Regions from separate parts of the Homo sapiens genome. Here region 2 is linked to region 1. Evidence: promoter capture Hi-C in 16 types of primary human blood cells and fetal thymus (Javierre and others, 2016). All regions are on one chromosome and are shown on one strand. Each heading gives the region's core, a stretch centred on a gene start or on the middle of the fragment in contact. The rest is flanking DNA. Distances are from core to core; before and after follow the strand shown.

Evidence for each region. Contacts are between HindIII fragments. The CHiCAGO score rates a contact against its expected background, and 5 or more counts as called.
Region 2: a contact is called between a fragment that was not itself captured here and the fragment with the promoter of DENND1C in region 1, in 1 of 17 cell types (total CD4 T cells). The highest score is 5.4, in total CD4 T cells.

The regions. Positions count from the first base shown.
Region 1 is chr19:6,476,919-6,483,635 of GRCh38, reverse strand. It overlaps DENND1C (DENN domain containing 1C), which reads left to right and starts at 1,849. Exons shown (of 23, transcript NM_024898.4): 1 at 1,849-1,957; 2 at 3,585-3,649; 3 at 3,734-3,777; 4 at 3,918-3,967; 5 at 4,580-4,699; 6 at 4,784-4,853; 7 at 6,178-6,258; 8 at 6,353-6,418; 9 at 6,509-6,562; 10 at 6,669-6,717. The coding sequence starts at 1,941. RefSeq lists enhancers at 1,364-1,658, 3,255-3,754. The HindIII fragment of the contact is 23,241 bases long and covers 1-6,717 here.
Region 2 is chr19:6,877,618-6,884,259 of GRCh38, reverse strand. No RefSeq gene overlaps it. Among named protein-coding and RNA genes, the nearest start is that of ADGRE1, 6.6 kb to the left of the region's middle. The HindIII fragment of the contact is 5,363 bases long and covers 1,952-6,642 here.

The DNA.
Region 1 (6,717 bases), core at 600-3,099:
ATAGCTGGGACTACTGCACCTGGCTAAAGTTTTAATTTTTGTAAAGATGGGGTCTTGTTATATTGCTCAGGCTGATCTTTAACTCCTGGCCTCAAACAATCCTACCTCAGCCTCCCAAGGTGCTGGGATTACTGAGCCACTGCCTCCAGCCCCTGTGTCTTTCATAGTCTGCAGCACGGCTTGAGTGTGTCGGGCTGTCATGAGTATCTGGCTGTCATGTGAGTCCAGCTGTGTCTCTCTCTGCATGTGGCCGGGTCTTGGCTATAACTATATCTGGTTATTACTTGAGCTATGTCTGTGCTGTGTTTCCATCTATCTGGGTCTATTTCTCTGTTATTCTGTTTGTATCAATGGCTGTGGTCTCTGTGTAACTGTTTATTGTGTCTCTGTCTGTCTCTGCATTTGTTTGTTTGTTTGTTTGCTTTGTTTTTGTTTTTGTTTTTGAGATGGAGTCTCACTCTTTCACCCAGGCTGGAGTGCAGTGGCACGATCTCGGCTCACTGCAACCTCTGCCTCCCGGATTCAAGTGATTCTCCTGCTTCAGCCTCCCAAGCAGCTGGGATTACAGGCACATGCCACCATGCCCAGCTAATTTTTTGTTTGTTTGTTTGTTTTTGATTTTTTGAGACAGAGTCCTGCTCTGTCGCCCAGGCTAGAGTACAGCGGCGCGATATCGGCTCACTGCAAACTCCGCCTCCCAGGTTCAAATAATTCTGCCTCAGCCTCCTGAGTAACTGGGATTACAGATGCCCACCACCGTGCCTGGCTAATCTTTGTATTTTTAGTAGAGACTGGGTTTCACCATCTTGGCCAGGCTGGTCTCGAACTCCTGACCTCGTGATCCACCTGCCTCAGCCTCCCAAAGTGCTGGGATTACAGATGTGAGCCACCGCACCTGGCCTGTATTTTTTTTTAATTAGAGACAGGGTTTCACCATGTTGGCCAGGCTGGTTGCAAACTCCTGACCTCAAGTGATCCGCTTACCTTGTCTTTCTGCGCACAATGGGTGTGTAACTGTGACTAAGTTGTTTTTTTTTTTTTTTGAGACAGGATCTCACTTTGTTGCTCAGGCTGGAGTACAGTAGTGCAATCTTGGTTCACTATGGCCTCAAACTCCCCAGGCTCAGGCGATCCTCCTGACTCAGCCTCCTGGGTAAGCTGGGACTATAGGTGCGTGCCACCACCGCCAGCTATAATTTTTGTAGCTTTTATAGACACAGGGTTTCGCCATGTTTCCCAGGCTGGTCTCGAACTCCTGGGCTCAAGCGGTCCTCCCACCTTGGCCTCTCAAAGTGCTGGGATTATAGGCGTGAGCCACTGTGCCCGGCCTGGGACTATGATCCAGCTGTAGGACTCCCTATCTCTCCATGTCTGTCGTCTCTGGCTCTTCTGCACTCGGTTTGTCTGTGCTGATGACTTCCTGAGCGTGTAACTGTCTGTGTCTGTGTCTGTCTGTCCGTCCCTGTGCCTGTACTTCGTGCTCTTTGTCCCCATCCCTGGCCCCCCCACCGTCCACTTTACAGGTGGCTCCCTCTGGTGGTCCACCAGTGACCGTCCAGGCCAAATGGACCAAGGGAAAGAGACGGGGAGGCATTTCATTAATAGACAGACTGTGAATCTTGGCTGCTGCGGAGCGGGGAAGGAGAGATGAGGGCCCAGGCACGATGGGGGGAACCAGACACAGTCCAGCCTGGCGGGGACGGAGCTGGGGGTCTGCCTTCCCAGGCTGACCACTTATTGCCCACCCATCCCCAACATAATTAGCAGGCAGGATGCCTGGGTTTCTCACGGGGGTGGGGGCAGGGCCTCTGTCCGGGGACGTCACCCGTTAAACTTCCTCTCTCAGCCACACAGGAAGCTGAGCCGGCTTGGGGCCCAGCATACACAGGCCCCCAGGACCCCTGGGGAGAGGGCCCCGCTGGGCTGGCCCTGCAGGGACCATGGAATCCAGAGCTGAGTAAGAGCCACCCCATCCCTCATTCTCTGGTACAAGATTCCCGGGCCAGGCCTGAGCCGGGGCAGAGGGGAGCTGGGGCTGGAGCAGGCCCGGGAGGTGCAGTGACCTGCCAGGGCAGGTGGCTGGAATCAGATACTCCATGGGCCTCCGCTATGACCTTCACTCTGGGACAGGCCACTCTCGGTCCCCTCCTCTCTCTCTCTCTCTCTCTCTCTATCCAGCTCCTGTGATTATGTCTATAGCTCTGTGAATGCATGTACCCCTCTGAGCTTTGTCCTTGGTATGTCTGAGTGATGGCTTCAGGGGGTCCACAGGGCGGATGATCAGGGCAGAGGGGAGGCTGGGTGTTGGTATGAGTGGGTGATCGTGTGTGACTTGTGTCGGCGTGAGGGTGAAGTGCTGGGGTACCCATGGTGGGGACTGTGTGTGCAACTGGGCGGGACAGTGTGTGTGCAGCTGATCTCCCTCTAGATCTCCCTGTCTCTCTCCTTGAGCCCAAGGCTGCCTCTTCTGCTTGATATGGGGGCAGAGGAGGAAAGCAGAGATTGCAGGGCTTACAGTAAGTACCTAGGTATCCTGCCCTCCTTTCTCTGATGAGACATGTGGGACCAGCCACGAGGGTTCTATGGGGTCTCACACACAGAGACACACAGCCAGCCCACAAGGATCCCACGCGGTTACCCAGTGACACTCACAGCTGTACAGGAAAATATAGATGTCATTCACTTGCTCGGGCACACACACTCACATCTATACAAGAAAATATAGATGGCATGGCTAGATGCAGTGACTCAAGCCTGTAATCCCAGCAATTTGGGAGGCTGAGGCGGGCAGATCACCTGAGGTCAGGAGTTTGAGAACAGCCTGGCCAGTATGTGAAACCCTGTCTCTACTAAAAATATGAAAATTAGCTGGGCGTGGTGGCGGGCACCTGTAATCCCAGCTACAGGGAGGCTGAGGCAGGAGAATCGCTTGAACCTGTGGGGTGGAGGTTGCAGTGAGCCAAGATCGTGCCACTGTACTCCAGCCTGGGTGACAAAGCAAAACTCCATCTCAAAAAAATAGATAGATAGATAGATAGATAGATAGATAGATAGATAGATAGATAGATAGATAGGTGGGTGGGTGGATGGATAGGTGGGTGGGTGGGTGGATGGATGGATGGATGGATAGACAGAGACAGACAGACAGACAGATAGATGGATATATATATAGAGAGAGAGAGATGTAATTCACTTAGCTTGGGACTGCACGGGCTGTCCTTCATATCTGTGCAGTCTCATGCCACAGATATAGGAGACAGTCTCATCTTTTCAGGCAGACAGCAGACAGGATCACACACACACTGCCTGCTCACAAAAGCCATGCACTCAGCCACACACAATCATACACAGCCACACACACACAGTCACACTTTCTCACTCCATCCTGTACTTGTGTGTTCAATTAACACTGCTGCACACACAGCCTCACACAACCACACACTCACAGCCACAAACCCCCAGAGTCATGCACATGCCGACGCACCTTGTGGCACATGCACACACAACCACACTTGTGTGCAAAGTGGCAGACACAACCACACATGCATAGAAGCAAGTCTCTGGACCCCTTCTGCATCCCACAGAGGGGGCTCCCCTGCTGTGTTTGATTGGTTCTTCGAAGCGGCCTGCCCTGCCTCCCTGCAGGAGGGTGAGTTGGGAGCCTGGGAGTGAGGGAGTGGGAGGGGAGGGTGGGCCTGGGTCGCTGAACTTAGAGGCGTGCTCTCTTCTACAGATCCCCCCATCCTGCGGCAGTTCCCTCCAGACTTCAGGGACCAGGTATTCAGGCTGGCTCCTTGCTCCCCCAGGGCGAGGGCCAGTCTCCCAGGGGGAGGGGACTTGGTTTCTTGGACCTGGAGCCCAGGGAGGTGGTGCCCGACCTCAGTGGCCAAGCAGTCTGCGCTTTTCTTCACCTCCAGGAAGCTATGCAGATGGTGCCTAAATTCTGCTTCCCTTTTGATGTGGAAAGGTACGGAAGGGCGGGGAGATCCAAGGACTCAGGGACTCAGATCTCTCAGGGGCCCCAAGGACTCAACACCTAGAGACTCAGACATCTGGAAACCCATACACTCGAGGACCCTGAGACTCAGAGACTCAGACACTCAGGGGCCCTGAGAACTAGGGACCTATATACATTAGCATCCAGGGACTCAGACACTCAGGGACCCAGAGATCTAGGGACTCAGGAACCCAGGGACCCAGGGACCCAGGGACTCAGAGACTCAAGGACTCAGGGACACAAGGATTCAGGGACTTCGGAACCCAGAGACTCAGAAACTCAGGGACCAGGGACTCAGGGACTCAGGGACTCAGGGACTGAGGAACCCAGGGACTTAGGGATTCAAGGACCCAGAGATCCAGAAACCCAGAGATCCAGGGACCCAGGGACTCAGGGACCCAGAGATCCAGGGACCCAGAGATTCAGGGACCCAGGGATTCTGAGACCCAGGGATCCAGACATTCAGGGATCCTGACAACTAGAGACCCATACACTCAGGGTCCTAGGAGCTTTGTTGGGGAGCGGGGACATCCTCAGACAGCTGGGATGTCCAGGTCTCTCTAACAGCCCTTCCCACTCCAGGGAGCCCCCCAGCCCCGCCGTGCAGCATTTCACCTTCGCCCTCACAGACCTTGCCGGCAACCGCAGATTTGGTTTCTGCCGCCTGCGGGCGGGTACCCAGAGCTGTCTCTGCATCCTCAGGTGCGGGATATGGGGGTTGGAGGGGGGGATGGGAAAGGCCGAGGCCTAGGGACACTTCGTGGAACCTGTCTCCTCTCTCCACAGCCACCTGCCTTGGTTCGAGGTGTTTTACAAGCTATTGAACACAGTGGGAGACCTCCTAGCCCAGGACCAAGTGAGACCAGCCCCTCTCTCACTCCTGTGGGAGTCCCAGCCCCCACCCCCCTCAACCTCCCAACCCCTCCCTCTCAGATCTCCCAGGCTTGGCAGGGCACACTGTGTCACACCTGTAGTCCCTGCATTTTGGGAGGCCGAGGTGGGAGGATCCCTTGAGCCCTGGAGTTCGAGACCAGCTGGGCAACATAGTGAGACCCCCGTCTCTACAAAATATAAAAAATAATTGGCCAAGTGCTGTGGCTCACGCCTGTAATCCCAGCACTTTGGGAGGACAAGGCGAGCGGATCACCTGAGGTCAGGAGTTCGAGACCGGCCTGACCGACATGGTGAAGCCCCGTCTCTACTAAAAATACAAAAAAAAAAAAAAAAAATTAGCCGGCCGTCGTGGCACACGCCTGTAATCCCAGCTGCTCAGAGGCTGCGGCAGGAGAATCGCTTGAACCCGGGAGGCGGAAGTGGCAGTGAGCCGAGATCGCGCCATTGCACTCCAGCTTGGGCAACAGGAGCGAAACTCCGTCTCAAAAAATAAAAATAAAAAATTAGCCAGGCGTGGTGGTGCACACCTGTGGTCCCAGCTACTCAGGAGAGCAAGGTGGGAGGATCAACTGAGCCCAGGAGTTCGAAGCTATAGTGAGCTATGATCGCAGCACTGCACTCCAGCCTGGGGGACAGAGCAAGACCCTGTCTCAAGAAAAAAAATTTCTTTTAGATGGAGTCTTCCTCTGTCGCCCAGGCTGGAGTGCGGTGGTGCGATTCCGCCTCACTGCAACCTCCGCATTCCGGGTTCAGGCGATTCTTCCGCCTCAGTCTCCCAAGTAGCTGGGACTATAGGCGCGGCCCACCAGCCCGGCTAATTTTTTTTTTTTTTTTTGTACTTTTAACAGAGACGTGTTTTCACTATGTTGGCCAGGCTGGACACGGACTCCTGGCCTCAGGTGATCCGCATGCCTCAGCCTCCCAAAGGGTTGGGATTACAGGCGCGAGCCACCGCGCCCGGCCTACAAGGAAAAATTTAAATTAAAAAATTTAAAAAGCCGGGCGCGGTGGCTCACGCCTGTAATTGTAGCCCTTTGGGAGGCCGAAGCAGCAGGATCCCTTGAGCCCAGGAGTTCAAGACCAGCCTGGGCAACATAGGGAGACTTTGTCTCTATTATTATTATTATTATTATTATTAATTTCTTTTAAAGAAAGAAAAAAAAAAACTCCCAGGACTGACCTGAGCCCTTGGCTCCTCCCAGACCACTCAACCTTAGTCATAGCCCTCGGAATCCCCAATCCCCACATCTGGCTCAGCCACCCCCGCCCCTCCACGTCCCACCCAGGTCACCGAGGCAGAGGAACTTCTTCAAAATCTGTTTCAGCAGTCCCTGTCTGGGCCCCAGGCCTCAGTGGGGCTTGAGCTGGTGAGTAGCTCCCATTCCCTGGGCGCTGGACCTTAGGTGGATGGGAAGGCTGCGTCCCAGCCATCATGACCACAGAGTCGTGCCTCTTCCCCAGGGCAGCGGAGTGACGGTCTCCAGCGGGCAGGGTATCCCCCCCCCTACCCGGGGGAATAGCAAGCCGGTGAGCGGGGCTCGGGGACCCTGGAAGGTCGGGGGTCCAGGTGAGGCCAGCCTCCTGACTGATTGATCCCCCTGCCAATACCCCCACCAGCTTTCCTGCTTCGTGGCCCCGGACTCCGGCCGCCTGCCATCCATCCCTGAGAACGTGAGTGGGGAGGGGTCTCTGGGGGTGAGAACAGGTCCCGAAACCCGGACCGGGGATGCAAGATCCAGGGGCCCGTCCACGCCCAGAGCGACTCTCTGATCCTCAGAGGAACCTAACGGAGCTGGTGGTGGCCGTGACTGACGAGAACATCGTGG
Region 2 (6,642 bases), core at 3,384-5,883, 400 kb before region 1:
TGAAATATCTCACCTTTATTATTATTTTTGCATTGCTCTAGTGTATCAACTTTGAAAACAAAAGACATGATTCTATTTATAGTGTTCTGTTTTTAGTAGGGATATTTCCAGATTACTATATTTTACAAAATATGGTATTTTTTACTATATACTATAGTATATTTTACAAAATACAGTAATTCTTGATTGCTGAAAATGTCAGATCCTAGAAAAGTGTAGCATTCCTACGCATGATGTTACTATCATTCTCAAACAGTTGTTGGCTGAAAATTTATCTGATGAATCCAATTTTTCCAAAATTGACGATTCTGATGTTAGTTCTGGTTAGAAATAACTCCAAGAACTGTTTTTATATTTTATTTTCACATTGAAAATCAGTCAGATTTGGCTGGGCACGGTGGCTCACACCTGTAATCCCAGCACTTTGGAAGGCCGAGGTGGGTGGATCACCTGAGGCTAGGAGTTCAAGACCAGCCTGGCCAACATGATGAAACTCTGTCTCTACTAAAAATACAAAAATTAGCCCGGCATGGTGGTACGTACCTGTAGTCCCAGCTACTTGGGAGGCTGAGGCAGGAGAATAGCTTGAGCCTGGGAGGCAGACGTTGCAGTGAGCTGAGATCGCACCACTGTACTCCAGCCTGGGTGACACAGCAAGACTTGGTCTCAAAAAACAAACAAAAACAACAACAACAACAAAACAAAACCCCAAAGAAATATGAATAAAGTGTGTTTTTCTAAAAGAAAAAAAAAAGAAAAGAAGTCAGATTTGCTTCAGCCCCAAAAAGGGTGTTTATGTAAAATTAAGTAAGTGCTGACAGCCAGTTGCACTTTTTTTTTTTCTTAAGGGGAAAATAAGGGACACTGCCTGGAGAGGCTGAACTTAAGAGTCAGCATGAAAATACAGTAAATTCCACCAGGAAGGGGTACAAACAGAGCTGCATTGTGGTTTCCGGAAGCACTGGAGATGAACTCTGGAAACATATTGCCAGAGGTTCAAATCCCACCTCCACTGCTTGCCTCAAATATTCTCATCTGTAAAATGGGCGCATTAAGAATAGGATCTCACCCAGGAGCAGTGGCTCATGCCTGTAATCCCAACACTTTGGGAGGCGGGTGGATCACTTGAGGTCAGAAGTTCGAGACCAGCCTGGCCAACATGGTGAAATCCCGTCTCAACTAAAACTACAAAAAATTAGCTGGGCGTGGTGACACGTGCCTGTAATCCCAGCTACTTGGAAGTCCAAGGCAGGAGAATCACTTGAACCCGGGAGGTGGAGGTTGCAGTGAGCTGAGATTGTGCCACTGCACTCCAGCCTGGGTGACAGAGCAAGACTCTGTCTCAAAAAAAAAAGAGTAGGATCTGCCTCATGGACCTGGTGTGGGCATCAGAGGAGTGAGTATATATGGCATACCAAGAACAGAGCCTGGCACCCAACGTTCCAAGTGTTGGTTATTGCAGTGACAGGAACTGAACTCAGACAGCCATGGGTTCAAATCCTGACTCTGTAAGGTATTTCCAAAGTGACCACAGGAGGTGATTCACCTCTCTGAGCCTCAGTCTCTTATCAGGAGAATAGGGATAATGATCAGCCCTGTCCCACAGGATCCTTGAGCATGTAGGGATGCTGGAAACCGCTCAGCATATGCGGCAGGTGAGTGCCTGCCATGAGCTCCATAAACAGAAACACCAGCTCTAACTTGTTGGCTTCTGACTCTTGGTGTCTTTTGACTTCTCATTTCCCTTGGTTGAGATGGTTGGTATTGTTATCAGGCATGGATGATGTCCACACGCCCAACACCCCAGGGTTGCTGGGGAAAAGACAGGATTGTCCTCCCCATTGTAAGATACAGAAAGCCAGAGGTGAGGAAGCTATTACTTGGCCAGAGGAGGCCTGACCCAGGTTGGGGGTTGAGAGAATGGCCTCCCAAAGGAGCTAACGTCTAAGCTTAGCCCTGGAGAATGAGCAGGAGATAATCACACTTAGCAGAAAAGGTAATACAAAAGAAAAATAAAATAAAGCATGTGCAAAGCCTCATTAAGTTTGAAAGAAGCTGCTGTCTGAAGAGGGCACCTATCCAGACTTCCACAGCTCTAGGATTCCCTCTGCAATTTTTTCGTTTGTTTTTTGAGACCAAATCTTGCTCTGTTGCCAGGCTGGAGTGCAGTGGCGCGATCTCGGCTCACTGCAACCTCCGCCTCCTGGGTTCAAGCAATTCTCCCACCTCAGCCTCCCAAGTAGCTGGGACTAAAGGCACATGCCACCATGCCCAGCTAATTTTTGTATTTTTAGTAGAGAAGGGTTTCACCATGTTGGCCAGGATGGTCTCTATCTCTTGACCTTGTCATCCACCCACCTCAGCCTCCCAAAGTGCTAGGATTACAGGCATGAGCCACCAGGCCCGGCCCCCTCTGTAATTTTTAAATTTTTAAAAAATTTTTATTTCTTTTAGAGAGTCTCGCTCTGTTGCCCAGGCTGGAGTGCAGTGGTGCAATCACAGCTTACTGCAGCCTCCATCTCCTGGGCTTCAGCAGTCCTCCCACCTCAGCCTCCTGAGTAGCAGGACTACAGGCACCTGCTACCATGCCTGGCTAATTTTTTTTTTAACACTTTTTGGTAGAGATGGAGTCTGGTAATGTTGCCCAGGCTGGTCTCTGGTCCTGAACTCCTGGGCTCAATCAATCCTCCCACGATACCCTCCCAAAGTGCTGGGATTGCTGGTGTGAGCCACCGCACCCAGCTTCCTTCTACATTTTTCTGTTCCACGCTGTATCCAGAGTCCAGGATTATAGGAAAAAGTGCAAGCCTCTGGCAGTCCATTCCAGTAGATAACATTACCCGAAAGGGAATTCTGGGGGTAGAAGGAGAGCGAGGACTAATGTTACCAGAGGATGGGAGGTGAGCAGGGAGAGCTACATCTGTGGTCTCTGCAGAGCAGACACTTGTCCAGGGAAATCCTTTTCTTTACAATCTTTGTTAGCCAGGCATGGTGGTGCACACCTGTAGTCTCAGCTACTTGGGAGGCTGAAGCAGGAGAATCGCTTAAACCCGGGAGGAGGAGAAGGTTGCAGTGAGCTGAGATTGTACCACTGCACTCCAGCCTGGGTGACAGAGTGAGACCCTGTCTCAAAAAAAAAGAAAAAAAAAAGCCTGCAGGTGGATATTTGGGTGTCTGAGACCTATGAGAAACACCAGCTCTAATTCGTTGGCTTCTGAGCCTTGGTTTATTTTGACTTCTTATTTCCCCTAGTTAATATGTGAGGTCTATGTGCTCTCTTTTTTTCTTTTCCGTTTTTGGGCCAGGCACAGTGGCTCACACCTGTAATCCCAGCACTTTCAGAGGCCGAGGCGGGTGGATCACGAAGTCAGGGGTTTGAGATCAGCTTGGTCAACATGGTGAAACCCCGTCTCTACTAAAAATACAAAAATTAGCTGGGTGTGCTGGTGGGTGCCTGTAATCTCAGGTACATGGAGGCTGAGGCAGGAGAATTGCTTGAACCTGGGAGGCAGAGGTTGCAGTGAGCCTAGACTGCACCATTGCACTCCAGCCTGGGCGACAGAGCAAGACTCTGTCAAAAAAAAAAAAAAAATTCTTTTTTGAATTGACAAATTAAATTGTATATATTTATGGTGTACAACATGGTGTTCTGAGATACGTATATGTGGTGGAATGGCTAAATCGAGGCAATAAACCTATCTGTTCCTTTGCATGCACGTCATTTTTTTGTGGTAAGAATAGTTACATCTACCCTCTTAGCAATTTTCAAGGATATGCTACATTGTTCATTGTTATTAACTACAGTCACCATGTTGTACAATAGATCTCTCGAACATATTCCTCTTGTTCAACTGAAACTTTGTATTCTTTGAGCAATGTCTCTGCACCCACATCTTCTCCATATGCTCCTGATCATAGAATGCTGAATGTGGGGTCTCAGCGTCCTATGAGGTCTCATAGGACGAGTATCTCATAGGTCTCAGATACACAAATATCCACTGGGGGACTCACAAAGATTAGAAAGAAAAGGGTTTCCCTGGAAAAGTGTCTGCTCTGCAGAGACCACAGATGTAGCTCTCCCCTCCCACCTCCCATCCCCTGGTGATATTGGTCCTCGCTCTCCTCCTCCCCCCATAATTCCCTTTCAGGTAATGTTATCTACTAGAAGTGACTGCCAGAGGCTTGCACTTTCTCCTATAATCCTTGTTCAGTGTATCCAGGAGTGTGGACTCTAGAGGCAGGAAGACCAATGTGGTGGTTTTAACATATCCATCAGTTCTTTCATACTCTTCAGGTGGTAGAGACTAATCCCTCTCTCCTTGAACATAGACTTAGTGACTTGTTTCTCTCTCTCTCTCTCTCTCTCTTTTTTTTTTAAGACAGAATTTTGCTCTGTTGCCCAGGCTGGAGTACAGTGGCATGATCATAGCTCATTGCAGCCTCCAAGTCCTGGGCTCAAGTGATCCTCCTACATGAGCCTCCCAAGTAGCTGGGATGACAAGCATGTGCCACCACACCCAGCTGACTTTTTGTTTGTTTGCAGAGATAGGATCTTGCTATGTTGCCCAGGCTGGTCTTGAACTCTGGGCCCAAGTGGTCTTCCTGCCTCAGCCTCCCAAAGTGCTGGGATTACACGTATGAGACACTATGCCCAGTGTGACTTGTTTCTATTGATCAGAAAAAGGAGCACATGACAGTTTGTGACTAGGTCATACGTGCCATTGTGGCATCCTCGTTGCTCTCTCTTTCCAGGGTCATGCACTGGGGAGTAGCCAGTCGCCATGTTGTAAGGAGATTCAAGCAGTGCTGTGGAGGAACTGAGCCTCCCACCAACAGTCATGTGAGTGAGCTGCCTTGGAAGCAAATCTTCCCACCCCAGTCGAACTTTCAGATGAGCCAGCCCTGGTCAATGGCTTGACTATAACCTCAAGCAAGAGCTTGAGCCAGAATTATTCAGCTCAGCCACCCCCAGACTCCTGATCCTCAGAAACTGTAAGAGACTAAAAGTTCCCTATTTTAAGCTGCTAAGTTTTGGAGTAATTTGATACACAGCAAGAGATAACCAATACACCTAAGAAGCAGTTTTCACCATTAATAAAATGAGGGTAATAATGTGTCTAACTAGGGCCAGGTGTGGTGGCTCATGCCTGTAATCCCAGTACTTTGGGAGGCCAAGGCGGGTGGATCATGAGGTCAGGAGATTGAGACCAGCCCGGCTAACATGGTAAAACCCCGTCTCTACTAAAAATACAAAAAACTATGCAGGCATGGGGGCACACGCCTGTAGTTCCAGTTACCCGGGAGGCTGAGGCAGGAGACTCACTTGAATCTGGGAGGCGGAGGTTGCAGTGAGCCAAGATGACACCACTGCACTCCAGCCTGGGTGACAGAGCGAGACTCTGTCTCAAAAATAAATAAATAAATAAATAAATAAAGGGTCTAACTTCATGGAGTTTGAGGGTTAAGGTGATACAATAATAAAACTGTGCCTGGCACAGATTAAATGCTTAAATACTATTAGTTATTATTGGTATTATTATTATTCCACCATGCTAAATAGTTGCAGCTACTCATAGAAAAAATCCTGATACCAGCAAAATTTGAATTGGAGAAGCCAGCAAATTTCATATCAGACAGAACCTTATAAGGTGGGTGAAAGAGTTTAGGCTTTACCCTCGGGGCAATAAAAGGAGGTTCAGCAAAGGAGCCACAGGCTCAGGTTGGAATTTTATGTTTGTGTTTTGTAGGTGGGTATTGGACAGGATGGGTTCACAGGTGGGCAGATAGGGAGGAGGCTGGGGATACAGCCAGGAGAGAGAAGAGAACAGTGGCCTGGTCTGGGGCAGGGGCTATAGTGACGGAGAATTTAGGAGGCAGGAACAACCGAATTTGGGGACTGTCTAGATGTAGCAGGGGAGTTTGAGACAGAAGAAGGATTCGACATTTGGAGGCTGGGCTAAAGAGTTGGAAGGTTTTGCAATCAAACCCAGATCCCTTCTGGGGATGGGGATGGGATGAGGCTTGCCACGGACCTGGCAGCTTGGGGAAAACACAGATTTAGTATATGATGGGTCCAGAGGTCAGAGTCCTCTCGAGTCTCATGGGACTAAAACCAAGATGCCAGCAGGGCTGCAATCCTTCCCGAGGCTCCAGGGCAGAATCCATTCCTTGTCCTTTCTGGCTTCTGGAGGCAACCCACATGCCCTGGCTCATGGTCCCTTCCTTCCTATGCAAAGCCAGCAGCTAGCAGTTTCAAATGTCTCTTGCGTACTCTAAATCTCTCGTTCTTGCTCTCTCTCTCTCTCTCATTTTCCCTCTCTCTTGCTCTCTCATTCTCTCTCTTTTTCTCTGTCTGTCTCTCTCTCAAGTTCTCTCTCTTGCTTATTCTCTCATTTTTCCCTCCCTCTTGCTCTTTCATTCTCTCTTTTTTTTTTCTCCTTTTTTTTTGAGACAGAGTCTCAGTCTGTCACCCAGGCTGGAGTGCAGTGGTACGATCTCGGCTCACTGCAACCTCCGTCTCTCGGGTTCAAGCGATTCTCCTGCTTCAGCCTCCCGAGTAGCTGGGATTACAGGCATCTGCCACCATACCTGGCTAACTTTTGTATTTTTAGTAGAGATGGGGTTTCACCATATTGACTAGAC